3 separate regions of the Homo sapiens genome follow, and regions 1 and 3 are each linked to region 2. Evidence: promoter capture Hi-C in human tissues and cell types (Jung and others, 2019). All regions are on one chromosome and are shown on one strand. Each heading gives the region's core, a stretch centred on a gene start or on the middle of the fragment in contact. The rest is flanking DNA. Distances are from core to core; before and after follow the strand shown.

Evidence for each region. Contacts are between HindIII fragments. The study calls those that stand out against the background at their distance.
Region 1: a contact is called between the fragment with the promoter of TRMT1 here and the fragment with the promoter of DCAF15 in region 2, in 2 of the 25 tissues and cell types used here (H1 embryonic stem cells and lymphoblastoid cells).
Region 3: the fragment with the promoter of GIPC1 here is called in contact with the fragment with the promoter of DCAF15 in region 2 in 1 of the 25 tissues and cell types used here (spleen).

What each region holds. Positions count from the first base shown.
Region 1 is chr19:13,114,395-13,118,159 of GRCh38, forward strand. TRMT1 (tRNA methyltransferase 1) reads right to left here and starts at 2,346. Exons shown (of 17, transcript NM_001136035.4): 1 at 2,259-2,346; 2 at 1,752-2,037; 3 at 1,603-1,658; 4 at 1,232-1,374; 5 at 885-1,072. The coding sequence starts at 2,005. It also overlaps a transcript of NACC1 not described here. RefSeq lists enhancers at 2,340-2,529, 3,490-3,639 and a silencer at 3,680-3,765. The HindIII fragment of the contact is 33,521 bases long and covers 1-3,765 here.
Region 2 is chr19:13,950,535-13,954,315 of GRCh38, forward strand. DCAF15 (DDB1 and CUL4 associated factor 15) reads left to right here and starts at 1,975. Exons shown (of 13, transcript NM_138353.4): 1 at 1,975-2,110. The coding sequence starts at 1,979. It also overlaps a transcript of PODNL1 not described here. RefSeq lists an enhancer at 1,348-1,397 and a silencer at 2,058-2,197. The HindIII fragment of the contact is 40,615 bases long and covers 1-3,781 here.
Region 3 is chr19:14,493,639-14,497,542 of GRCh38, forward strand. GIPC1 (GIPC PDZ domain containing family member 1) reads right to left here and starts at 2,489. Exons shown (of 9, transcript NM_005716.4): 1 at 2,399-2,489. RefSeq lists an enhancer at 1,804-2,730 and silencers at 2,393-2,622, 2,763-2,822. The HindIII fragment of the contact is 12,252 bases long and covers 1-3,904 here.

The sequences.
Region 1 (3,765 bases), core at 1,096-3,595, 840 kb before region 2:
AGTGGCTCATGCCTATAATCCCACCACTTTGGGAGGCCGAGGCGGGCAGATCACGAGGTCAGGAAATCGAGACCATCCTGGCCACCATGGTGAAACCCCATCTCTACTATAAATACAGGTGGGTGTGGTAGCAGATGTCTGTAGTCCCAGCTACTCAGTCGGGAGGCTAAGGCAGGAGAATCACTTGAACCTGGGAGGCGGAGGTTGCAGTGAGCCAAGATCACGCTAGTGCACTCTAGCCTGGGCAACAGAGCGAGACTCCGTGTCAAAAAATAAATAAATAAATAAAAATAAAAATTAGCCAGGCGTGGTGGCACGTGCCTGTAATCCCAGCTACTCGGGAGGCTGAGGCAGGGGAATGGCTTGAACCCGGGAGGCGGAGGTTGCAATGAGCTGAGATCGTGCCACTGCACTCCAGCCTGGGCAACAAGGGCGAGACTACATCTCAAAAAACAAACAAACAAGCAAACAAACAAAAAAAGGCTGTGAGCCCCACAGGCTATAGTTTGCCAACTCTTGCGAAGGTCACCAATTTTGCATGTTTTGTTTCCTGATGCATTTCCAGTTCTTGAAAACGGTGCCTGACACATAGCAGACACTGGATATACTATGGCTCATTTGAATGAATAAAAGGAGTGTAAGAAGTTAAAACAGAGACCAGGATGCTACTTATTTCTGGCACAGAGTATGGATCATACCATAATTATCTATTACTCATCACAGCAACCCCTGTAAAACTAATTTTCTCAGTTGACAGACAAGGAAACTGGGGCTCAAAGAGGCTAAGTCACTCACTCAAGGTCACAGAGTGAGAATGTGACAGAGCCAGAATTTGACCCCAGGCAGGCTTGTCCCAGAGCTAGGCTGTGATGCCCAGAACCTACCGGGCATCTGCTTGGCTCGGCTGTACCAGGTGGGCCACGTCATTGAGCTGGACATTCCGGCGTATGAGATCCACAGCCCGGGTGGAGGCATCGTTTGCAACCACAGATCTGAGCCCAGGCACCTCTAGGGCAAATCGAATGGAACGTAGGCCTGAAGCTGCCAGGCCTTCCAGCACATGCAGGCCTTCCTGTTGGAGTAAGCAGAAAACCTCCCTCACATCTCCACCTCCATCCTCTTCTGGGCCCCAAGGAGCCCCCACCACCCACCTCCTATAGCTCTCCCCCTCCAGGAGCCCTCTGTCTCCCGCTAAATTCCAGGGCTGCCAGCTCCTATGCTCAGGCCCCACCTCACAGATCTCCCCCACGGCCGCTGTGCGAGGTTGGTCTCCTGAGGCCAGGTTTTCACTCTCTTTCAGTTCAACCTTTTCCTCCTCTTGCTCTGACAAGTCCACGACCACTTTTTGCGTGTCCTTCTCTCCTGGAACCTTGACTGCAGCCACCCAGAGGCACAAGTCAGAGAATAACAAGGTCCCCTCTGAGAAACCTCCCCTTAATCTCCAAAATATCGTCCCTGAAATCCCTGCGGAAAGGCTGAAGGAGCAGAACCCAGGGCCTGCTATGTGGCTGAAGCCCCTCTGGATTTGGGCGGCAGAAGAGCCCAGGCAGGGAGATAAACTTGTGTGACCCCCGCCCACCAGAAGCCTGGACCTCCACTCACTCTGGATTCCTTTGGCCCCAAGCTGAATGCGAGCAAACTCGGTGATCACAGCACATCTGGTGGGAGACAGAGGACTAGCTCATACCCCGCCCCCGCCATCCACACTGACCCACTAGCCGATGCCAGGCTAACGTCTGACCCCTGCTCACGTCAGGTCCCGATTGAATTCCTGCACCGGGTTATAAAAGACCTCGTTGGCACTGGGAAAGGCGATTTTGGCAGCCCCCTCGGTGACTGTCGTCTCCTGGACTTCACGTGGACGTTCTTCTCCGTAGGGCCCGGTGCCGTTCTCCATCGCTGCTGTATTCGGCAGCCCTGGAGACTGCCACTCGAAAAACCGGGCTCTAGAGAGCACCCGGGCGGAGCGGAAAGTGAGGCTTAGCCACAGAGACGATCCTTGCATGAGACATCCGCTGGCGCCTCCGCCCGCCAAGCCTGGTTCGGGGGGCGGGGGAGGGCACAGAGAGGGTCAGAGAGCCGCATTCCGGGCCCGGGGATGTCCTACATATCTATGAGGTAGGGACTAGGAAAACCTGCGGCCTCGGTAAGCTGATATCCCCTCGTTTTGGGGATGACTGGTCCCTGTGGAGCCGATGCCCTCGTGCAGGCCCGCCCCGAGTCCGAATCCCTCCCCGCGCTGCCTAGCCCGTCCTCACCTGCTCTCGTAGCCACAGAAAACCGAATTAGTCAAGGTGCACGTTTCCCGAATTAGGACCTGGGCGCCGCCATGTTGGCACAGTGGGTGGGCGAATCACATGATAGTGGTTGGCCAGTCAATGAGGAAACGTACGGTGGGCGGCCGGGATCAAAATGAAAGCCATAAAGGAAGCGCGCTGATCGTGCTGTTCCGGGGGTGTTAATCACAGTGGATCCCCTGGGAGAGGACACGTCCCTAGTCCCATTTCACAGATGAGGAAGTTGTGGCTCAGAAAAGGGGCGGTAAGCGGAGAAACCCAACACTTATTGGTCCTCTTCTGTGTTCTGGGTGCTATATACACATTATTTCAGAGCACCCTGCAGGAATGACTCAGGCTCTGGAGTTGGATTTACCGGGTTTGAATCTCAGTCCCATCACATGCTCTGGGCAGGTTACTCCCGCGGCTTCACTTTTCTTACCTATTAAATGAGAATCGTGGTTTCTCAGATAGAGCAAAGATTAAATGACAGATTCCTGGAAAGTGTGCAAAGAACCACTCTAACATTGTAAGCGCTCGGTAAAGTTCTAACCAGTGTATGAAGGCAGGACAGCGAAGTGGTCCCGGCTACCTGGGTTCCAGTCTCAGCTCGCCCTGCGACTTGTTAACTCTGAACTTAAGTTACCGCTTTTGCAAAATGGGCAGAACTTTTTTTTACCATTTGTTACTGGGTTGTAGTGAGAAGTAAACGAGTTAGTGCAGGTAAAATGCTAACAGAACCTAGCATCCGGTAAGCATCATAAAAGTCTTAGGTCTTATTGTCGCTTTTGAGCCTGTGTTTAAATCCTGGCACCTACCATCACTTCCTTGCTGTGTGATGATCTTGACCAGCTTTCTTCATTTCTCTGTGCCTCCTTTTCTTTCTTTCTTTCTTTTTTTTTTTTTTTTGAGACGGAGTCTCGCCCAGGCTGGAGTGCAGTGGCATGATCTCGGCTCACTGCAACCACCGCCTCCCGGGTGCAAGCGATTCTTCTGCCTCAGTCTCCCGAGTAGCTGGGATTACAAGCGCATGCCATCACGCCCGGCTAATTTTTGTATTTTTAGTAGAGACAGAGTTTCACCATATTGGCCAGGCTGGTTTCGAACTCCTGACCTCAGGCGATCCACCCACCTCGGTCTCCCAAAGTGCTGGGATTACAGGCGTGAGACACCGCGCCCAGCTGCCTTTATTTTCTATAGTGTGTCTGTAGCAGTTCTCACTAAAAAATGTTACTGTGTAGTTTAAACGAGCTAATTCCCATAAAGAATGTAACGCAGTGCCTGCCACAATAAACAGCAGTCATTATTGTTTTTGTTTTACAGGAAACTAAAGTTCGGAAAGGTAGAGCGACTTGCCCAAGGTCGCGGGACTAGAAGGTGGCGGGGCCAGGATTCGAACCATCGAGCTGAGCCGACGTACTGGCGAGGATCCCCCAGGGGCATAGAGAGGAGACGGAGCCGGTTAGAAGGGGCGCGCTCGGAGCTCGGC
Region 2 (3,781 bases), core at 725-3,224:
TTGAGGTTCTAGGTTTGGGGATAATATCAGACAGTTACAAATGTCCTCCCTATCACATAGCTGGGGTCCGTGATGTCAGTATGACTTATCACTGGTGATGTTGATTTTGATCACTTGGTTAAGGCAGTAGCTGCCAGGTGTCCCCACTGTCTTGGAGACAGCTTTGCTCTCCATGGACGTAGGGTATGCAAGAAGCAGGGGAACCTTTGGCTAAAGATACATTGTGATGGCCGGGCGCAGTGGCTCACGCCTGTAATCTCAGCACTTTGGGAGGGTGAGGTGGGTGGATCACTTGAGGTCAGGAGTTTGAGACCAGCCTAGCCAACATAGTGAAACCCTGTCTCTACTAAAAATACAAAGATTAGCCGGGCATGGTGGCACATGCCTGTAATCCCAGCTACTTGGGAGGCTGAGGCAGGAGAATCGTTTGCTTGAACCCGGGAGGTGAAGGGTGCAGTGAGTTGAGATTGTGCCATTGCACTCCAGCCTGGGCAACAAGAGCAAAACTCCATCTCAAAAAAAAAAAAAAAAAAAAAGATATGTTGTGATATTGTGTTGTGATATATTTTTAAAAAACCATATTTTGGTCTTAGGTTTTCTAGTACATAACTCCTAAAACCCTTGAAATCAGCTGGGCACAGTGGTTTATGCCTGTAATCCCAGCACTTTGGGAGGCCAAGACGGGATGATCCCTTGAGGTCAGGAGTTTTCGAGCAGCCTGGGCAACATAGTGAGACCCCATCTCTACAAAAAAAATTTTTTTAATGAAGACAATAAAAAAAAACTATCTTCTAGATTGTTCAGAGGATTAAATGGGCTGGCCAGGGGTGGGGGCTCACACCTGTCCTCCCAACACTTTGGGAAGCAGAGGTGGGAGGATCACTTGAGCCCAGGTGTTGGAGACCAGCCTGGACAACTTGGTGAAACTCCGTCCCTACAAAAAATACAAAAAATTAGGCCGGGCGCGGTGGCTTATGCCCGTAATTCCAGCACTTTGGGAGGCCTAGGCGGGCGGATCACCTGAGGTCAGGAGTTCGCAACCAGCCTGGCCAACATAGTGAAACCTCGTCTCTACTAAAAATACAAAAAATTAGGCAGGCGTGGTGGCGCACGCCTGTAGTCCTAGCTACATGAGAGGCTGAGGTGAGAGGATCATCTGAGCCCGGGGTCGAGGCTGCAGTGAACCGTGATCACGCCACTGCACTCCAGCCTGGGTGACAAAGTGAGACTCTGTCTAAAAAAATAAAATAAATGAGGTAATGTATACGAATATGATGCACGGAGCGGACCTTCAACAATTATTTTTATTGCTATGATCTGCATAATTGGCACAACAGGGCCCTGCCACATCGAACTGTTTAAGCTCAGAACCGTGTCTGTCACATGTGGAGCGATCCATGATTGATGCTATCATTATCACCACCATCATCCCACCAACCCGCCCATCGGAAACAAGCTTTCATCGAATCCCATCGTTTTTTCCTTTTTTGTAAATCTCTTTCCTCGGCCTGGCTCTGCCGCCCAAGTATGCTCGTCAGGCCTTTGCCCACCTGGACCGGGCGCGGGCAGCCCGGGGCTGAGGATTCTCGAGCCTTGGTGGACCACAGGCTCCCGTCGCCCCGCCCAAGGGCCTGGACCGCCTGTGGTCTCCATGGAAACCCGCCAGCCACAGGGGGCGTGACGCCGTTGAGACAGACAGAGATATTCACCTATCAGATCAAAGTTATCTGGGCAGGGCGAACAAACGGGACCTCCGAGTGGTACGTCCTTAAGGCGGGGCGGGAATACGGCAACGGGCCGCGGGGGCTGTTACTGTCGCTACCAATCAAGAGTCGAGATGGCTTTGATGGACAGGCATAGCGCGAGTGCGGGCTTTCGCCCAACCGGCGGGCCGCTGTCCCGAAAAAGGACCAATGAGGAGGCGGCAGGGGTGGGGCGAAGGGGCCGGTTGCTCCGGAAGTGGAGGGAGGGGGTGAAAATGGCGCCCAGCTCGAAATCGGAGCGGAACAGCGGGGCTGGGAGCGGCGGCGGCGGCCCCGGGGGAGCCGGAGGGAAGCGGGCAGCAGGGCGGCGGCGGGAGCACGTCCTCAAGCAGCTGGAGCGGGTCAAGGTGAGGCCTGGAGCCGGAGTGGGGAGCGCGCCGGAGGGTGGGGAGTAGGGACGAGGGAGGCGGAGGGAGGAGGGCGTTCGCGGGGTGAGGGGTTGGGGGCGGGGCCCCAGGGGAGGGGGCTCGGATGCAGGGCCTGGGCGGGGCCCGGGGGAGATGGCTTGGATGGAGGGGGCTCAGTTGGGGGCCTGGATGCAGGTGGTTGTGTCGGGTGACCGGCAAAGGGGCTGGGATGGAGGGGGTTGGGGGCGGGGCCCCAGGGAGGGGGCTCGGAGGGAGGCGACCCCAGAGGCCGCAGGGAGAATCAGGAGGAAGGGGGCGATCCAGGCTTTTCAAAGCTCTGCTCCCATGGTTGCTCCATAATGGAACCTTCCCGCCCCCTTTGCAGAGCCCCTGCCGCTGGCTTTGGGCTTCCTCCGCCTGATGTTCCTCTCCCTGCCCAAGCCCCGACCACACATGAGCTGGGAGTTCCAGTACCTGGGTGGGCCTCCCCATTGAAAGTGTGGGAGCTCCCTGGATAGGGCTGAGTCTTCCCCCGCAGAGTGAGAGTTACCGAAGCAGGCTCTGTCTCCTCCATCAGACTGGAAACTCCCAGAGCTGGGGGATGATGTCTCTCTCCCCCATCAGTTTGGGAGCTCTGGAGGGCAGAAATGTGGATCTCTTGCAGGTGGGCAGTAACTGGGGCAAGGCTGTGTCTCTGTGGACAGGGACTGCGCCTTCTCCGTGAGGCTGGTAGCTTTGTAAGGGCAGTGCTGTGTCTCCCCCTTTTGACTGGGAGCTCCCTGGGCTGGGACAGTCTCCGCCCTTAGCCTGGGAGCTCCCTGGGCTTGGCTGTGGTTCCGCCCTTAGCTTGGAAGCTCCTTGGGCAGGGACTGTGTCTCCCCTGTCGGCCTGGGCCTGGCTGGCCAGGCTGTTTCCTCCGTCAGACTGAGACCTCCATGTGGACAGGGCTGTCTCCCATCAGACAGGGAGCTTCCCAGACAGGACTCTTCCCATCAGATTGGAATGTCTTGAAGGCAGAGTTGGGTAGCAAGACTGAGGCTGTTCGGATATCCCTGTGCCTGGCTTCTGCCTGTCAGTCCCCGCAGATCCTTCCGCGGTGAAGTTTTGGGGATGAGGGATTCCCTTGGATTCCGTTGGAAGGCGGTAGTTAATTGGGAAGGGGGCGTTGGGTCATTGGTTAGGCTCACCCTTCTATCTGCCTCGACTGGCCCCCAGCAGAGGCCAGAGCTGCCCCGGGGAGGAGGAGCCCCCTTGTTTGAAGGCTGGTGGGTTGGGAACAGATGGGTGCAGGTCAGGACTCTGTCCCAGCCTCCTTAGTAGGATAAATACCCACAGCTTAGGGACAGCCTTCAGGGAGGGAAGCAGGTGGCCCAGCGTGGGACAGGGTGATTGGGGAACTTTCTTGGGGGCGGTGACGCTGGGCTCAGTCAAGAGGGACCTGAGGCTGAAGAGGTATGGAACTGGGAAGGTGGCCTGGGTCCCTGGTGGAGATGAAGGCTCAAGCGCGGTCCATCTGGCTTTACTGTCCCCATCTGCCTCAGTTGTTCCCACCTTCCAGAGCTTGGCCTTCTTTTGACCATTATGGTGGGCTGGGCCGGTCTGGACCCGGTGAGAGCCGCTCTGCCTCTCTGCCGTGGGTGAGGGGGCTGGGGGCTGCAGATGGTGCCTGAA
Region 3 (3,904 bases), core at 1,239-3,738, 540 kb after region 2:
TTTTGTATTTGTTTATTTTTATTTATTTATTTATTTTTGAGACGGAGTTTCATTCTTGTTGCCCAGGTTGGAGTGCAATGGCGCGATCTTGGCTCACCGCAACCTCTGCCTACCGGGTTCAAGCGATTCTCTCCTGCCTCAGCCTCCCATGTAGCTGTGATTACAGGCATGTGCCACCACGCCCAGCTTATTTTATATTTTTAGTAGAGACAGGGTTTCTCCATGTTGGTCAGGCTGGTCTTGAACTCCTGACCTCAGGTGATCTGCCTGCCTCGGCCTCCCAAAGTGCTGGGATTACAGGCATAAGCCACCACGCCTGGCCTATTTTTATTTTTTTTTGAGATGGAGTCTCGCTCTGTAGCCCAGGCTGGAGTGCAGTGGCACGATCTCAGCTCACTGCAACCTCCGCCTCCCGGGTTCAAGCGATTCTCCTGCCTCAGCCTCCTGAGTAGCTGGGCTTACAGGCGTGCGCCACCACACCCAGCTAATTTTCATATTTTTAGGAGAGAGGGGGTTTCACCATGTTGATCAGGCTGGTCTCAAACTCCTGACCTCTTGACCCACCTGTCTCAGCCTCCCAAAGTGCTGGGATTACAGGGGTGAGCCATGCCCCTAGCCAATTTTTGTATTTTTAGTAGAGACAGGGTTTCCCCATGTTGGCCAGGCTGGTCTCAAACTCCTGACCTCAAGCAACCCACCCGCCTCGGCCTCCCAAAGTGCTGGGATTACAGGCGTGAGCCACCGCGCCCGGGCCCCCTTGCCTGATCTTTGCTGGGCTGGCACCCCTTGCCCACAACTACTCTCTACAGTACCACCCGCTCATATTTTATTCATAGCAGTTAGTGCCATCTGAAATTATCTTCTTTATTTACTTGCTAACTTGTTTGTTGGCTGCTTCCTTCCTTTCAGAGTGCCAACTCCTCAAAAGTAGGGATTTTGTTTTGTTCACTGTTGCATTTTCTGTGCCAAGAACAGTGCCTAGCACATGCACGTAGCAGGTGCTCACTAAATATTTGTAGACTGAGTGAATGAATGTGTCTCAGGTCCTCGTTCTGATTGCTCTCTGTGCTCCCCATCCTTGAAACAGCCCCCTAAACATGCCTGCTGTGCGGTTGCCAACTGTCCTAGGCTCCCCACTTTCCCTGGCTCCCCTCACACCTGAACACAGAGATGAAGAGCCACTTCAGCCCGGATATTGAGTGTTTGGGCTGGAATTTCAGCATCCTCACCCCCTCATCCTGGGAAGGGCCTGAAACTTAGCAACCCCACGGCCACACAGAAGCAGTGTGGCCAGCAGGAGGAGGGGAAGGGGGTTCCTGGGAGCACACAGAAGCTAGGGGAAGGGGGAAACCACGCCCAGGCTCCCCGTTCCAGCACAGTGTTGCTTTGGAGAGAAGGAGGGAAAGAGGCCTCTGATTCACTCTTGAAAAACCGGCTCCTGGGTGTTTCCGGGGAGAACGCCTACTTCCCAGCCTCGGCCCAGGTTGCCAGGGGGGAACCCAGTGGGCCCAGACCCCAGCATCCTGGCCCCCTGCAGACGCCACTCTCTTCTCTGGACCCAGGTAGTTAGACCTGCCCTCTCCAGCTCTGGGGAGAAGGGAAAGGAGGGCAGCTTCCTGTTTGAGTGGCTGGTAAAGCAAAAGACCAGCAGGTGTGGCCCTGATGATGAGTACGGGGTAGGGGGTGGGAGGGGTAGGGGGCCGGAGCTACTCAGCAACAACTGAGCCGTGGAGTTATTGGTATCCAGTCTAGTGGGTGTGACTCCAGTTCTGGACCCTGGGGCATGAGTTCCAGTCCCAGATGTGCCAGTTACTAGCTGTGTGACCTTGGGCAAGTCACTCCACCTCTCTGGGTAGGCTGCCTCACCTTTTTTACAAGAAGGCACAGCACCTCCCATGAGGTGTTTAGAGTCAATTATCCTCATGGTAAATGCCTGACACGGAAGCTCTCCAATAAATGCTAGCTGAGGTGGAGTTTTTCATGACGATTATTATTCAGACCGTGGTCCTCACTGCGTCCCCCCCAAGGCCCTGGAGGGTTCAGACGCGGTTAGCTCAGGGGAAGTGCCCAGGAAAGGGTCAGAAACACTGACCCCGCGCCTGTCCACGCTGGGATGGGGACAGTCCAGCCGGGGGACGGGGGGAGGGGCAAGCCCAGAAACCCCAGCCCAGCGTTGGGAGGCGTTTGTCCCCTGCCCGCCAGCAGGAAGGGAGCTGCCCCCACCACCCCCCACCCCCGCTTCCCCTGGGAAGGGGCCTCCGGCATCCCCGCGCGCAGCCTAGACCTCCAGTCGCGTCCACGGCGCCGGCCCCACCCTGCAGGATCGGCCGGATCCTCGCAGGCCCGCGACCCCCGAGGCCCCCGGAGCAGACACATCCTTCTCGCAGAGGCCACTCACCTGCTCCGCCGCCGCCGCCGCCGCCGCCGCCGCCGCCGCTGCCTCCGCCTCCCCGTGCGCACCCGGCTCGGCCCTCCGCAAACTCCAGACCGGGCCTCTCCCGCAGCGGCGCCTGGGGGGCGGGGCCGACGCCCGCGGCCGGCCAATCAGCGGCTGCCTCTCGGTGCTCGCAGCCAATCCGCGTCTTCCGCTTCGGGTGGACCCGACGGAAACATTCCAGAGGGATCCCTCCGCCTCGCCCGGCTCTTCCCGACTCCTCCCCTCGCCGCGAAGCAGTGGACCGTTCCGCCCCGCCTAAGCCGCGGCTGGCTGTACCACCGGAGGGCTGAGGAGGGGGGGGAGCTGCAGCTGGGCCCCGGCCAATCGCGAGGGAGGAAGGAGACAAGCGGCCAATGGGAAGGAAGCTGGGGCCCCTGAACCACGTGCTGTCGGCTGAGTGTCAGTCTCGGGTGCCCTGGGTGGTGAGGGGCGGGGGAGTCAGGTGACCTAGGCCAGGTTTCGGGGAAAGGATTCGAACTTCCGACGTCCAGGAAAGCGGACAGTTTAGGAGACCTGGGTGGGGGTCAATGGCAGTCCCCAACCCAGTTCCCTGCCCGGCCTCCTCTGCCCCAGCCTGGCCATCCTCGGAGCGGATAAAAAGATGCATTCAATCTCTGGGGGCGGGCGGGGGATCGAGATGAATAGGGAGGGTCCCGAGTTTCCCTGCTTCCTGGGCTGTACAATGGACAAAGGCATTCATTCATTCATTCGTTCACTCACTCATCAAATATTTAATGTGCCAGACTGCTCCGTGCCAGACTCTGTCCTACCTCTGAAGACGCGTCAGTGAATAAGCTGAATGTGCTCCTGGTAGAGGTAACAGAGCGTGCAAAAGCCGGACAGAGAGATACAGCACGCTTTAGGATACTGCAATATCGTGGGAGCTAGTAAATCAGTGTGGAAAGGCAAGATGCAATGAAAGACAAGGGTGAGATAGTTTATCTGCTTGTTGGTTTGTTTATGTGCTAGGTCACAGAAGGTACCCAGCCAGCCTTTCATAGATCTGTCTCCTCCATCTGACTGTGAGGGTGGAGGCTGAGTCTCTCTTGTCAACCCCTCACTCCCACCTCAGGCTGCCACACGGCAGGTTCTCAGCAAACCTGTGTGGACAAATAGACCATGTAGTTTATAAGGAAGGGGGATTTATCAGGTGGACACAGATCCAAGAAACAAGAGTCACAAATGCACCTGGACCAGGCCAGGACGCTCAGTTCCCGGGACAAGTGAGATTTCCTTGTTCTAGTTCAAACCCAGCCACTTGGACAGCAACTGGGGCTGAATGCTGTGTGTTCTGGGAACTGTAGTTCCTGGAAGCCTCTAAGTGCTGAGACCCTGCTCAAGCTCCATAGAAAGACTGGTTCTTTGCAGTTCCCAGGGTGAGATGTTGTGCATATCAGTCCCACCAGGACCTGCAGAGGGGCAAACTAAAATGGGAGATGGAACCTTGAGCTTTGCTGCTGAGGATTG